Linked DNA regions of Homo sapiens: region 2 is linked to region 1. Evidence: promoter capture Hi-C in human tissues and cell types (Jung and others, 2019). All regions are on one chromosome and are shown on one strand. The core of a region is centred on a gene start or on the middle of the fragment in contact, and the rest is flanking DNA. Distances in the headings are between cores, read along the strand shown.

Region 1 (6,919 bases), core at 2,709-5,208:
TAGAGCATCTGAAAGAGCCCAGACTTGAGCTGACAGCATCCCACCTCCATAAGAACCAGGGACTTTTTACTTTCTGCCCCAGGACATTCTCTGAAGCTGAGAGGCCTGCTCTGCCCTCCCAAAAGCATAGCCCTGAAGTGCAAGAAGGTAATGCCCTCGGGTCAGCCCTCAAACAATGGGGAAGAGGAGGGTGGATAAACACCCGCTAGGCTGACAGGCAATTCTGTATCTGATCCACGGGTCTCTGGGGAACTGAGCCTCACTCCTCTGGATGCCTCCTGCAGTGACCCTGAGAATACACCTTTTTCTTTTTTTTTTTTTTCCTCTGAGACTTCGTCTGTCACTCAGGCTGGAGTGCAGTGGCGCGATCTCAGCTCACTGCAACCTCCGCCTCCCAAGTTCAAGCAATTCTGCCTCAGCCTCCTGAGTAGCTGGGATTACAGGTGCCCACCACCGCGTCTGGCTAATTTTGGTATGTTTAGTAGAAATGGGGGTTTCACCCTCTTGGCCAGGCTGGTCTCGAACTCCTGACCTTGTGATCTGCCCCCGCCTCGGCCTCCCAAAGTGCTGGGATTACAGGTGTGAGCCAACGCGCCCAGTGAGAATACACCTTTATACTGGTGTATTCACCTTTGCTCCTTCTCAACCGCACTACTCCCCACCTCCACTGCCCCAATCTTCCACTCCTGTGATCACCTTCCAATTAAATCACCTGCATCCAACACCTCTCTCAGGCTTTGCTTTGGAGGAAACCCAAACTAAGATGGGCTATGTTACTGGAGACCCAGGATGAGTAGTGTTGTGGTGTTAACAATCGCACATATAAAATGCATGTATTGGCTGGGTGTGGTGGCTCACACCTGTAATCCCAACACTTTGGGAGGCCGAGGCGGGCAGGTCACAAGGTCAGGAGTTCGAGACCAGCCTGGCCAACATAGTGAAACCCCATCTCTACTAAAAATACAAAAATTAGTCAGGTGGGGTGGCGGGCACCTGTAGTCCCAGCTACTCAGGAGGTGGAGGTGGGAGAATCGCTTGAACCCGAGAGGCAGAAGTTGCAGTGAGCCAAGACCACGCCATTGCACTTCAGCCTGGGTGACAGAGTGAGACTACGTCGCAAAAAAAAAAAAAAAAAAAAAAAAGAAAGAAAGAAAGAAAATGCATGTATTTCTCAGTATCTCCTACATGCAGAGGCCGTGACTGGGCACAAGGGGATGTGGCATTGTCTGAGTTTGCCCTTGCTTTTCTAGACCTCCCTTCTGCCTGGGGAGATGTGACAGAAGAGGTGAGCCAGCAGCACAGGAGGGATCAGAAACATTTTCCTTCTGCCTTTGGAGAACATCACATGGGTTGGGGGCAGCAGATTGATGTTCCTAATTACATTTGGCTCAAGCTGCTATTAAGTACTTGTCTCATTCTCAGAGCCCACAACAACGGCGGATGGCGGGAAAGGTGCCAAGAGGCATGCTGGGAGCTCAGGATGACAATCTGGGATTTGAAATCTCTGTAAGATATAAAAGTGGACAGACAAGTCACAGCCATGGGTGCAGGGTGACTGGTGTCCTTGAGTTGCCCTTTAAAGGTTTCCGATGGGGTCCTAGGGCTGGAAGGGCCCTGGAAAGGTCTTGAGCTCCATCCTTCTGGCTAGAGGCTGACCTGCCCAAGACAGCTGAGACAGGGAATCTGACTCTTCCAATGCTGGACAGCTCGCTGGTGGGAAATGCTTTCATGGGCCTAATTTAAATTTCCTCTGCTGCAGGTTAAAGGTATATTTTGCTTGATTTGTTCTTGGTGGCATTAAATATTTGCTAAGCTCCTACTATGTGCCCAGGGGTACACAGTGAGAGAAGGCATGCCTCTGTGCTCAGAGGCTCATGAAAATGAGACCAGACCCTCAGAACTAAATGCAACAGGGAGAGCCATTGGGCTGGAGTTGTCAGGAGAGGTGGCAAGGAGGTGGTGCCGTGAGAGGTGGGATGCGTTTGAGTTAGTGCAGAAGAATAAGAGAGCATTCCTGGCAGGCAAGCAACGTGGGAAGATGCCTTAGGAAGGGTTTTGCACAGAGGAGACGCCTGAGGTCTGCAGCACATCTGCTACCCAAGAGATTTAGTAAGTCCCTGGAACTCCCCTGGGGAACGAATAGCTGCCTACCTATGTCCTAAGACACCTGTGAAACTCAAATAAGGCAGCAAGTAGGAATGGACCCTGCAGTTCACGGATTCAAAGCACAATGCTGAGCTTGATTTAAGAAGACTTTCATTCAAGTCCTCGCTCTGTCACTGTGTGCTCTTGGGCAATTCCCTTCCCTTCTCTAAATCCGTTTACTCATCAGCAAAATGGGGACGGTAATTCTTTCCTCACACTGTTGCATTTAGGACTCCCAAGAAAATGTGGTTAAAAATGGCAGGGCCGGGGGCGGTTGCTCATGTCTGTAATCCCAGCACTTTGGGAGGCCGAGGCGGGTGGATCACGAGGTCAGGAGTTCGAGACCAGCCTGGCCAATACGGTGAAACCCCGTCTCTAATAAAAATAAAAAATTAGCCGGGCGTGGTAGCGCGTTCCTGTAGTCCCAGATCCTCGGGGGGCTGAGGCAGAAGAATCGCTTGAATCCAGGAGGCGGAGGTTGCAGTGAGCCGAGATCGCGCCACTGCACTCCAGCCTGGGCGACAGAGTGAGACTACTCCGGTCTCAAAAAAAAAAAAAAAAAAAAAATTGCACAATGACCCACAAAGCACTTCCTGGAGGCTGGTTACTCTATTATTATTGCTCCAATCTAGACACTGGTCTCCCGGAAGGCAGGCATCCCATCTCCTCTCTGTTCCCCCAGCACTTTCCACAGAGCAGGTGCTCATATATGACGTTGCCTTCGCTGTCCAGGTGAATTGCACCGGTAATTACCGTGGAGCAGGAAGCCAGCACTTCCGGGCTTGCCAGGCTGTCCTGCTTGGAGAACCCCTCTGCTTCCACCTCTGCTAACTCCTCCCCTCCACCCTCTCCGCGGTTCTGTATCTGCGGAAACCGGTTCTGCTCAGGTGCTTGGGAGGGAGACTCCTTTCTCAAGACTTGCGAGGTCACCTTCAGGTGACTGTCCCTCAAATCTCCGCAGCAGCTCCAGGACACACTGTGCCCCGAGTCAGGATTGGATCAACACACAGGACGCACCTGTGTTATCACTCCACCAGTAGAGCGGCACTCAGTGGTAGTGTAGACAGTCCTAGGGCAGGGCAGCTTCTATAACAAGAGGTTCCTTAGGGAGCTAGCGGCCGAGTGGAAAGAGCGGGAGGAACGGCTCGGGCAGGCAGGTCCTGTGCTGTGGTCTAAGTCACTTCCCACGTCCGTCCCACTCTGATCGTCAGTTTCCTCCTCTGCAAAACTCACTAAGGCGGCCTTCGGGCAAGTCATCGCGGCGGGAATTAGATTCGAAAGAGTGCTTACACAAATCCGTCTGGCCACCCTGTGCCCCGGGCCAGCGCGAGGTGGGGGTGCGGGCAGGGCTCCCGGGCTTGCGGCTGCCACGCCCCTCCCAGCCCGCCGCGCCACACTCACGGCCCACGGGCCGACTTTGCGAGCCTCCAGGGGGCGAACCCGACCGCCTTCTTTGCCCGCGCAGCGCCTCGGCCGTCCAGCCTGTGACTTCACCAGCGTCCCCGGGCCAGCGGGACACCCGAGAGCCCGGGGCGCCGCCCGTTCTCCCAGCCGGCAGGTGCCGGGAGCCAGCCTCGCCCAGCCGCGTGGCGTCCGCAGGCCCGAAGGGGTTAAGGCCGCGGACCCGGGCGCCCGTCCGGACTCCGGGAGCAGCGGTGCCCGGCGGCCGGCGATCGAGCGGGAGGCTCGGGGCACGGCCGCTGGCGGGCTGCGCTTCCTCCTCCTCCTCCCTCCGCCTCCTCCTTTGTAGCGAGTTCCCGGCCCCTCTTCCTCCCCCCGCCCCCCAGCCCGGGCCCTCTCCCTCTCTCCCTTTCTTCCTGCCTCGCCTTCCTGCGGCGAAGGAGGCTCATCTATTATAAATGCACATTCGGGGCTGACATCAGCGACGAGCGGCGGGCGAGCGCCGACGAGCGGTCCCTGCGCGCTGCCCGCCCGGAGCGCAGCCCCCAGGCTCGGCCGAGCCGCCGGCGGGGCGCGGGGAGCGAGCCGGGAGCTGCCGGACCCCCTTCCGCCGCCGCCCCGGGCCGCCGCCGCCGCCCCCGCACGCCGCGCCCGCGCCCCCGCTCCGCCGCGGAGTTTCTGCATGACTGTCACAAAGGTAAGCGCCGCTCGCCCGCCGCGCCCGGGACCCGCCGGCGCCTGCATCCCCCGGGCTAGGCTGCGGGGGGCGCGGGGGTGTGGGTGTGGGGAGGGGGCGCCGGTGCCGGGAAGGTGCGGCGCGCGCCTCTCTTGCTGCCGGATCCGCTCGAGTCACTCCGGCCCCCAAGGACTGCGGAGGCCAGGGGGAGGATGCCGCTCTGGCAGCCCCGGCGGTTTGGCCAACATCCCTCCGCGCCCGGCCCAACCCCGGGACTGCATTTTTAACCCTTGTTTGGGATGCTGCATTTTTAACCCCTGGAGAGCTGGGCTGGGCGGCTAGCGGTGTCCCTCCAGGGAGTGCGCGGCGGGAAGCGTCGCTGGCAGGGGCTGGTGCTGAGCAGTGGGTGTGGGGATGGGCCTGCCGCCCCGAGGAGGCCAGCGGAGGGGAAACCCCACCCCACCTGCCAGCCTCTGCCGCCCATGCCGGGAGCGCTGGCTCCACTCCAAAGCCACTCTGTGCAGAAGGCGCTGCCCAGTCCCGGGAGCCGCTACCAGAGACAGGGCAGGTCCAGGTGGTTGGCTTGAAGATGTGGGGAGGGAATGTGACAGGGGAAGCAAAGGTGGGCATCTTGGCAGCCCCCATATTGGAGGATGATTGTTGGGCCTTGTCATAGGGGCCCACGTTTATTGGAGAGACTTCAGGGGCTTCCTAGTTGTAGGGAGGAAAGAGTTAAGAGGAAAGATGATGGGGCAGTGGAAAGTGCCAGGGTCAAGGGACCAGGGAGACCTGAGTTCAATCCCAGCTCTATCCCAGATCCCCTGGATGACCTTGGTCGGGGAGGGGTCCACTTTGGGCCTCAGTTTCTTCTTGTGTGCTGTGAGGGTGATAATATGGGTCCTGGGTTGTGACAGGCTGTTAAAGAACCAATAACATCAAGGGTGTGAACCCACACTCTTCAGAGAGATCTGTCTGGGTACTGAGCTCACAGTCTGGCGGTGGCCTCGGGCTTGGCCGTCCATTCAAGGGCCAGACTCCACCCTTTCCAGCTGCCCAGCTGGGTCCCAGAATTGGGGAGCTGGAGGCCAAAGTGGGACCGGCAGCCCAGAGTGGGGTCAGATGGAGGGTCAGAGCAGTGGGGCCAGATGGAGGGTTGGGGTGCAAGTGATGGAGGTGGGGTGGTTTTGGCTCCTTCTGGTAAGCCAGGGCCTACCCTTGCCCTCCTGAGGTCTGCCCCAAGACTGAATGTTTGTGCGGATTCTTGGGCCCAACTCCAAACTTTGCCATTGGCCCTGGTTCTGGGACTTGGGAGCATTGTGAGAAGATGAACTTGAGGGTGCAGGGGCTTCCTCAGCTCTGGCTACTTCTGGCAGGGCTGTTGTGGCCCACCTGGGGTAAGATGCTTAGGGTTTTGAAATGATGCAAATGCTATTCAGCTGGGAGGGATATTAAGGTTATTAATGTCAAAGATGCAAGCAGGCTGGGACAGAGGAGTAATGGATGGGCCCGGCTAGAGAGAGAAAGGGTGTGAGGTTTTAATAATAGCGCTGAGGATTAACTCAGCGCCTCCCCTGTGTCTCTTTTTGTGCGCGAGCTCATGCAGCCTTCCTTCCCTGGAGGCCTGCAAGGAAGGTGTGTTCAGTTCTCTTTAACAGTGGAAGGAACTGAGGCTCAGAGAGGTGAAATGACTTGCCTGAGGTCACACAGCATGTATGTGGCAGAGCTGGGGTTTGCCCTCAAGTCTGTCTCAATCTATGGCCAGTGATCTTTGCACTGCTCTGCATCGTTGGGCATCCTGGCTACTGGGGGACTTCCATGGTAGAGGAGCACTGCTTGGAGACCTGAACCTTGAAGCAGGGATGGGACAGGGAGTCCATGAAAGTGGGTGCTTACCTGTTAAGCCCACTGGCAGGCCTAGCTTCTTGGTATCCAGTAACTATTCAACACTCCTCCACCCCCATACCCAGCCCCCAACAAACCCTCCATGTCGCTCACCTCCTGCTCTAACCAATGTGGCTTTGGCTTAAGCAAGCTCAGGGGATTAAATAAAATCCCCACCTTAACCCTATCTTCTCTCCCCTTGCTGGCCCTTCACAGACCAGCGTGTTCTTGTGGGGAACAGAGAGCAAGAGGGATGCAGGAAAGGCACTGGGGACTGCTTTGCTGTCTACAAGCCCGCTGGTAGTAGCTCTTCCAGTACCATAGGGAAAGCCACCATGCTCTGGAAGTCTGAAGGCCTGGCCCCTAGTCCTAAATTAGCCACCAACAGGCTGTGTGACCTTGGACCAGTCACTTCCATCCTTGGGCCTCTGTTTTTCTATTTGTCAAATGTAAGACTTGGTTCCAATGATCTCTAGGGCCTCTTCTGCTGAGCCTTGGTGCAGCTTCAGTTCTGGCAAGAAAGTCACCTCTGATGGAGATTGGGAGACTCTTTGTTCTCTGAGGGGTGGTCTGTTTACAAGACAGATATGAAGGAGAACCCTAAAGAGGGTGTGAGAGGTAGGATCGCTGCTGACACACTGGGAGCGGTAGGTAGGGGAGGAAATGGGTTCGAGAGTGAGCTCCCAGGGCAGTGTCTAGGGCTCTAGCCTTCTCTGCTGCTGCTTCTCCAGGCAGAGGGTCATGGCTGGGTCCCAACTTCCTGCCCCTTGGACGAATGCCTTAGTCCTTGTATCAGGTCCCCTCAGGGCAGAGTCC
Region 2 (6,336 bases), core at 1,739-4,238, 230 kb after region 1:
CTGCCTCAGCCTCCCAAGTAGCTGGGATTACAGGTATGTGCCATCATGCCCGGCTAATTTTTTATATTTTTGGTAGAGACGGGGTTTCACCATGTTGGTCAGGCTGGTCTCGAACTCCTGACCTCAGGTGATCCACCCACCTTGGCCTCCCAAAGTGCTGGGATTACAGACGTGAGCCATTGTGCCCAGCCCAGAGTCCTACTATCTAATGTCTAAGTTACTTAACCTCCATTCATTCAATACACGCTCCTCAGAACTACTAAATCCCAGGCACTACACCAGGTGCTGAGGGTACAATGATAAAGGTGTCTTTGACTTCTGCTCCCAAAGTGTCCAGCCTGGAAGGGACAAACAGAAGGGAACATTCCGACACACAAGGGCCGCTCAGTGTGCCCCGGAAGCCATCTGACCTTTGTAGGCCAATCTCTGTCAGGAAATGGGTGGCCTTACCTACACCTCAGGGGTGTTTTAAAAGGTAAAAAAGATAATGCTTGCCAAGTACCTAGCAAGCAAGGACCACACAAAGCTCATGGCAGATACTCAATAAGGGGTAAGCCTCCTCTTGTCCCAGAATGGGTCTTAGTGATGGCAGCAGCAAGGTGTTCCAGGCAAAGGCACTGCATTGCCATGCCTGTTCCACAATGAGCAATTCTCTTTTCTTAGAGGAGTCTGGAATACACTGCTACTTATTTTTTAAAGCAGCACCTAAGCCCCTAATTATGTCTTAGCCTACTTTTATTGGAAAGCCATTTGCCTCTCTCCCACATTCCAGACCCTCTTCAATATCTCTGAGGCACCTGGGTATGCTTCTCACCTGCGTGCACAAGCCCTGGTGTTTGATGGAGTGTCAGAGCCACAGAGGAAACCCACACACATTTCTTAAGACCCTGGCACAGAAAGGCACAGGCAGGCACATGGAAAGTCGCTTTTACTAGGATACCCCTGAAAGTATTAAATAATAAATAGAAAAAAAATAGGACAAAAATCATTAAATCTCACACATATTGTTTGGTTTTATGTGCTCTATTTCACAAACTTTTTTTTTTTTTTTTTTTTTTGAGACGGAGTCTTGCTCTGTTGCCAGGCTGGAGTGCAGTGGCACAATCTCGGCTCACTACAACCTCCGCCTCCCAGGTTCAAGGGATTCTCCTGCCTCAGCCTCCTGAGTAGCTGGGATTACAGGCGTGCACCACCAAGCCCAGTTAATTTTTGTATTTTTAGTAGACATGGGGTTTCACTGTGTTGGCCAGGATGGTCTTGATCTCCTGACTTCATGATCCACCCACCTCGGCCTCCCAAAGTCCTGGGATTACAGGCATGAGCCACTGCGCCCGGCCCACAATAAAACATTTTTAAAAATCAGAACTTTTGGCATAATCTATTTCGCTTTCCCAGGAAAAGAAATGTAGCAGATTTTATAACAGAGAAGAGAAAGTAAAGTCAAGTCAAGAGTCTAAGGTATTTCCATATTATCATCAAAGTTGCCGGGAGAAGGTTGGGGGTCAAAGCTAAGATTCCAGGTTGGATGACCTGGTTTTGTATCCAAGCACAGCTCCTCAGTACTACCTGACCTTAGGTTGGTTACTTAACCTTTCTGAGCCTTGGTTCCCTCATTGGCAGAGTGAGCATAATTCCATTCATCCAGCAGCATTTCTGTATAGATTAAAGAATAAATATGGTGCCTGGCACATTGGCATGAACAAACAGTTAAAAACAAACAAAACACATTTTTAAAAAGATATTACTTTTTCTATTTAGTACAAAAATGAAAATCTAGTGTCTTCCCTTGTTTTCTGAGTCTCGCTCTGTGGCCAGGCTGGAGTGTAGTGGCACAATCTCGGTTCACTGCAACCTCTGATTCTCCTGCCTCAGCCTCCTGAGTAGCTGGGATTACAGGCGCCCACCACCACGCCCAATTAATTTTTGTATTTTTGTAGAGATGGGGTTTCACCATGTTGGCCAGGATGGTCTCGATCTCCTGGCCTCGTGATCCACCTGCCTCGACCTCCCAACGTGCTGAGATTGTAGGCGTGAGCCGCTGCACGCGGCTGTGTCTGCCTTTGAGAAGCTTCAAGAAAAACAGTGGGCATGAAATTATCCAGCCCTCATAATACTGGGAAACTATTTTCCTAACAGGCTAATTAATAAAGTCTTACTTCAGCCAGAAGCTCCTTTCAAATTGATGTAGGATTCCTGCTTTTAGATGAAATTATTGGCCAATTATAGCTCAGTCTGGTCCTTGGGAGAGGTGGGGTCTGCTGCTGTATTTGTGACCTCTGATTTAACTGTGGGCTTCTCTCTCCCTAAAATAAACCCTGGGGGCCCTGTGAGTCCTGCCTCACCATCTCTGGTCAGAGGCATCAGTAGGGTCTCTCCAGCCCCCATTCAAAAGCATCTAACCCCCTAAACCAGGTCCAGATGGAATCCAGAAAGTACAAATGGGGGTCCTCCAGGAAACACTGCTATTTCAGAAACACCAATGGAAATTCCACTCTGACAGTGACGGCAGCTGGTGGTACAAAATTGGGCGGTGTCTCCGCCTAGGCAGGAAAAACACCAGCTCCAGGCAGTCAGCCGTTGCCTTACCTGGAGGGCTGATCAACCGTCACAAATGTGTTTAAAATTTCTACCCCCTCCCCACACCCAGCCATGAGAAAATAAATGTATTATTGTTAATAAATGCAATTTGGAAGTCTAAATCTTTCAAAGGGCTGAGTCTTGAAGATAATAAAACACATTCTGGGATGAAAAGGCAGAGGGCTGGAGCCCAAGGCTGGTGTGAGCAGAGCAGTGGCCGGCTATTATACTTGTCCTTCTTGGGTTTAATTTCATCTTTCCCATGAATCATCCCATGAATTCACACCTTAAGCTCACTGGGCCTTAGCTTGTTTATTGGGAAGAGGACTTCTAGAGGTACTTCTAGATCAGATATCCTAAGTTCCAGCTCATGGGGTCAGAAGTCCAGTGTAAGGCACTTGAGTGCTCAAATGCCACCTCCTCAGAGAGGCCTTCCTGGACCACCCATCTCCTTTAACGCAGCCTTATGGGTCTTCATGGCACTCATCACACCAGCAGCCATGCCTTTGCTTGAAGGCTTACTACTGACTGTCTCCCCCAGCGGAACAGAAGCCCCACAAGAGCAGCATAGGTGATGTGTCTGTCTAGTTCCTAGAACAGAACCCAGTACAGAGTCGGCATTCATCAATGTGTGTGGAATGAATGAATGAATGATTAGCCAAGCCAAGGGTCAACCAGAAAGACAGGGATTCCAATCTTACACCTTCATTTGCTATCTGGGCACCTCTGGGTAAGCCACATAACCCCTCCACAGTATTGTGTATTTGCAGAAACCACCCCCATAACTCTGGTTAACATCAGACAGTAGTGGCCAAGTGCTGCTCACCATCAGGGACATTTGTGGCAGTAATAAGCCTCCTGGGGCTAATAAGCCATTGGTCGATACAAGTCTGGTTTCTGGTACAGTGGGTGCCTCTCAGACCAAGATGCACATCTTGCTGGAGTCTATGGCCACTGGTCAATCTCAGAGGCACATTCTCACTCCCATATCCAACCCTGCCACTCCTGATGATGAACACCGGCCGCTGAAACTGAAGGAAGACTCCTGAGTGCCTACACATGCCAACTGCCTGCCCTGAATGAAGTACCCTTCTGGCTTTAAGAGGGCAGTCAGCGTTCCATTTCCGCTCCCACTACTCCCACCCCAAAGAGCAACCCTGGAGGGCTCTCCTCTAGAAGCCTTCCCAGACTCACAGACCACACCTAAATGCAAAGACACACCAGTACTTTTAACCAAGACACAGAAAGGCATGTCTGCAACAGAGCCATAAACTAGACAAGGGCTAAAAAGAACAGAACTGCTCATTATGGCTTCAGGCCAACCTCTGCAGATAGGCTTCATCAGGCCTACCAGAGACAGCTGAAAGCTTCACAAAGTACAGGCCTGCCCAGTCTTCAGAGACCACAACCAGGGTACACCCAAATCTTCATGGGGAAAGGAAGACGTGCAGAAGTGGAAGGAACGCCTGGGTGGCTGTGAAGGCCAGTTTCTGACCCTCCATATGGAACAGCCCCCTGTGCCAGAACAGACAGGCTACTCCCACTGGCAGCCAGGCAAGAGGCTGGAGAACCACATCTGCCATCGTCACAGAGCTCTTCTATGTCCCCAGCTGCAGGAGAGTCACACTGGGCTCTGTACACCGTCAATGCTGCCCTCTGGCAGGGGGTATGGACATATAAAGGAGCACTGACCAGACAGAGAGAAAGCCACAGATGCACACCTAAGTGAGTGCTATTGGACTTGGCTGAGAGGCGAACGCTGCTGCGTGCCCTGGAAGTCCCCAGGACTTTTACCTTTATGTCACCTAGGTGGACACAGTTTGCTCCCTTTCTTCCAGTGAGTTGAGGAGGGCTTCCCAGAAAAGGGGACCTCTCAGGAGCTGTATGAATGAAAGATAAAGGACTGGGAGAGGCTGGCCCAGACTTCTGCAGCCAGAGGGGAGTTTAAAGGCAAGAAGGCTAGGGTCACGGAGCAACTGCTATGGGAAAGGTGAGCCAGCGCGACAGCCCCCACCCCAGAAGAGGCCCGGGGCAAGGGGATGCCTGCAGCTTGGCTGGTATTCCTCCCGCCCCACCTCCACAGAAAACGGGGGGGGGGGAGTCTCTCCTTTGCCCAGAGCCTCCCTGCCCCTCCCCTCCGCTTCACAGCTCCAGGCGAGGCCTCCTCCTGGGGCAGGCCGAGACAGCTCTTCTCAGACTTGCTCCCACCCCAGCAAGCACCTTCTGGAGAGGGGCTGACTCCACCCCACCCCCACCGCTGACCAAACAGCTCATTCAAGCCCTGACGGGTAGAATCTAACCTTCAGGGTCCGTCTACAACCCATACCTGGCATAAACGATATTTCTTTCCGTGCTAACAACAAGCTCTGGGAAGCAGGTTATTCACCGTTTCACAGATGTGGCAACTGAGGCTCAGTGAGGTGACCTGCCAACATCCTCAGGCTCAGCAGTTCTCAAGCACTACTGCCCACTGTACCTGACTGCCTGGGTCTGCGCCTGGGCCCCCGCCCTTTTACAAAAGGTCCACGGCCTCTCAAGAGCTGGACATGAAGGATGGGCCAAGTCCAGTCTTGATCGGTAATGCCCACTTGACACTCCCAGGAGCAGCATCCTGAGATACACGTAAATGAAAAATTCCAAGTGTGATGAGCAGAACGTGGTTGTGTGAACAATCCCATGGTGGTGGGGATGTGGGGGGCAGGTCAAGGAGCGGATCCCTGAACCCCAGCAGATTAAATCCTGCATCCTTCTTTCCTATTTCCTGGTTTCTCTGCTCCATTTTCCTCTAGTTTCCACTTAGTTACTTCTTCCTACCTGCTGTGAAGCTCTGCACCCTGCTCCATGGGGTGGTTCCCAACTGTGCTTTAGAGTCCCCTTTAGAGCTTTCTAAAAATACACGGACTGGGGCACCACCCTCAGAGACTGATTCAGTTCAGGCAGAGCCTGGGTATTGCTTCAGATGCTCCCCTGGCAGTTCTGATCCACAGCTGGGGTTGAAATCGGCTTTACTAACCACACACCTTCTTCCCTGCAGTGTATGTGCTATGCTCCATCACTCCAGCTCCACCACAGGAGCCAGGCACCACCATCCACTATAACCACTCTCTTCTCTCCTACCCAGCCCAGGATGCAAGGACTGGATTCAAGAAATTAAATTTGCTACAAAAATACTTACATAGCATTTATACAACTCCTTGTCTCATTCCCGATGCTGGGCACACAGGCCATATCAGTGGACTCCCCTCACCCGTCCATTCAGTTACACCACTTAGGCCTGCCCATGAAGCCAATGGCTAAGGTGACAGTTGGTTACATAAATTGAAGATGAGTCCCTCCTCCAGATGCATGGTCCCTGAAGAAATCTGAAAGTAATTCCTCTAAATTGAGAATGACAGGCCCTTGCCTCCACCCTATCACCCCCTGCACACGCACATGCATACACACGTAGTTCTCACGAATTCTACAGGAGGCAGCAGAATCCAGAAACCCAGCACTGGGCACTGCTGGCTGCAGAGTTCCAGCACAACTTTGCTGAAATCTCTCAGCAAACACACTCTGCGGGCCTCTCTCTTTCAAGCTTCACTGTGCACCTCTGTCTCTGCCCTTCCAGCCCACACATCCTGCCTCTTACTTGTTCCCCACTCCAAGATAACTAGGAGAAAGCCACCTTCCCACCCACCCTGAGTCTATGGCTGATGGAATCCTTATCGTAGCTACTTCCTGGCCTCTCAGGACATGGGCAGAGAGAACCCGGGGGTT

What was found. The method cuts DNA at HindIII sites, captures the fragments that hold promoters and counts their contacts. A contact is called where the count stands out against the background at its distance.
Region 2: a fragment that was not itself captured here is called in contact with the fragment with the promoter of CORO2B in region 1 in 1 of the 25 tissues and cell types used here (dorsolateral prefrontal cortex).

What each region holds. Positions count from the first base shown.
Region 1 is chr15:68,575,035-68,581,953 of GRCh38, forward strand. CORO2B (coronin 2B) reads left to right here and starts at 3,959. Exons shown (of 12, transcript NM_006091.5): 1 at 3,959-4,243. The coding sequence starts at 4,229. RefSeq lists an enhancer at 4,147-5,014. The HindIII fragment of the contact is 24,079 bases long and covers 1-6,919 here.
Region 2 is chr15:68,802,763-68,809,098 of GRCh38, forward strand. The region is part of intron 1 of ANP32A (acidic nuclear phosphoprotein 32 family member A); the gene reads right to left. ANP32A-IT1 (ANP32A intronic transcript 1) reads right to left here and starts at 4,339. Exons shown (of 1, transcript NR_026808.1): 1 at 1,059-4,339. The HindIII fragment of the contact is 4,122 bases long and covers 928-5,049 here.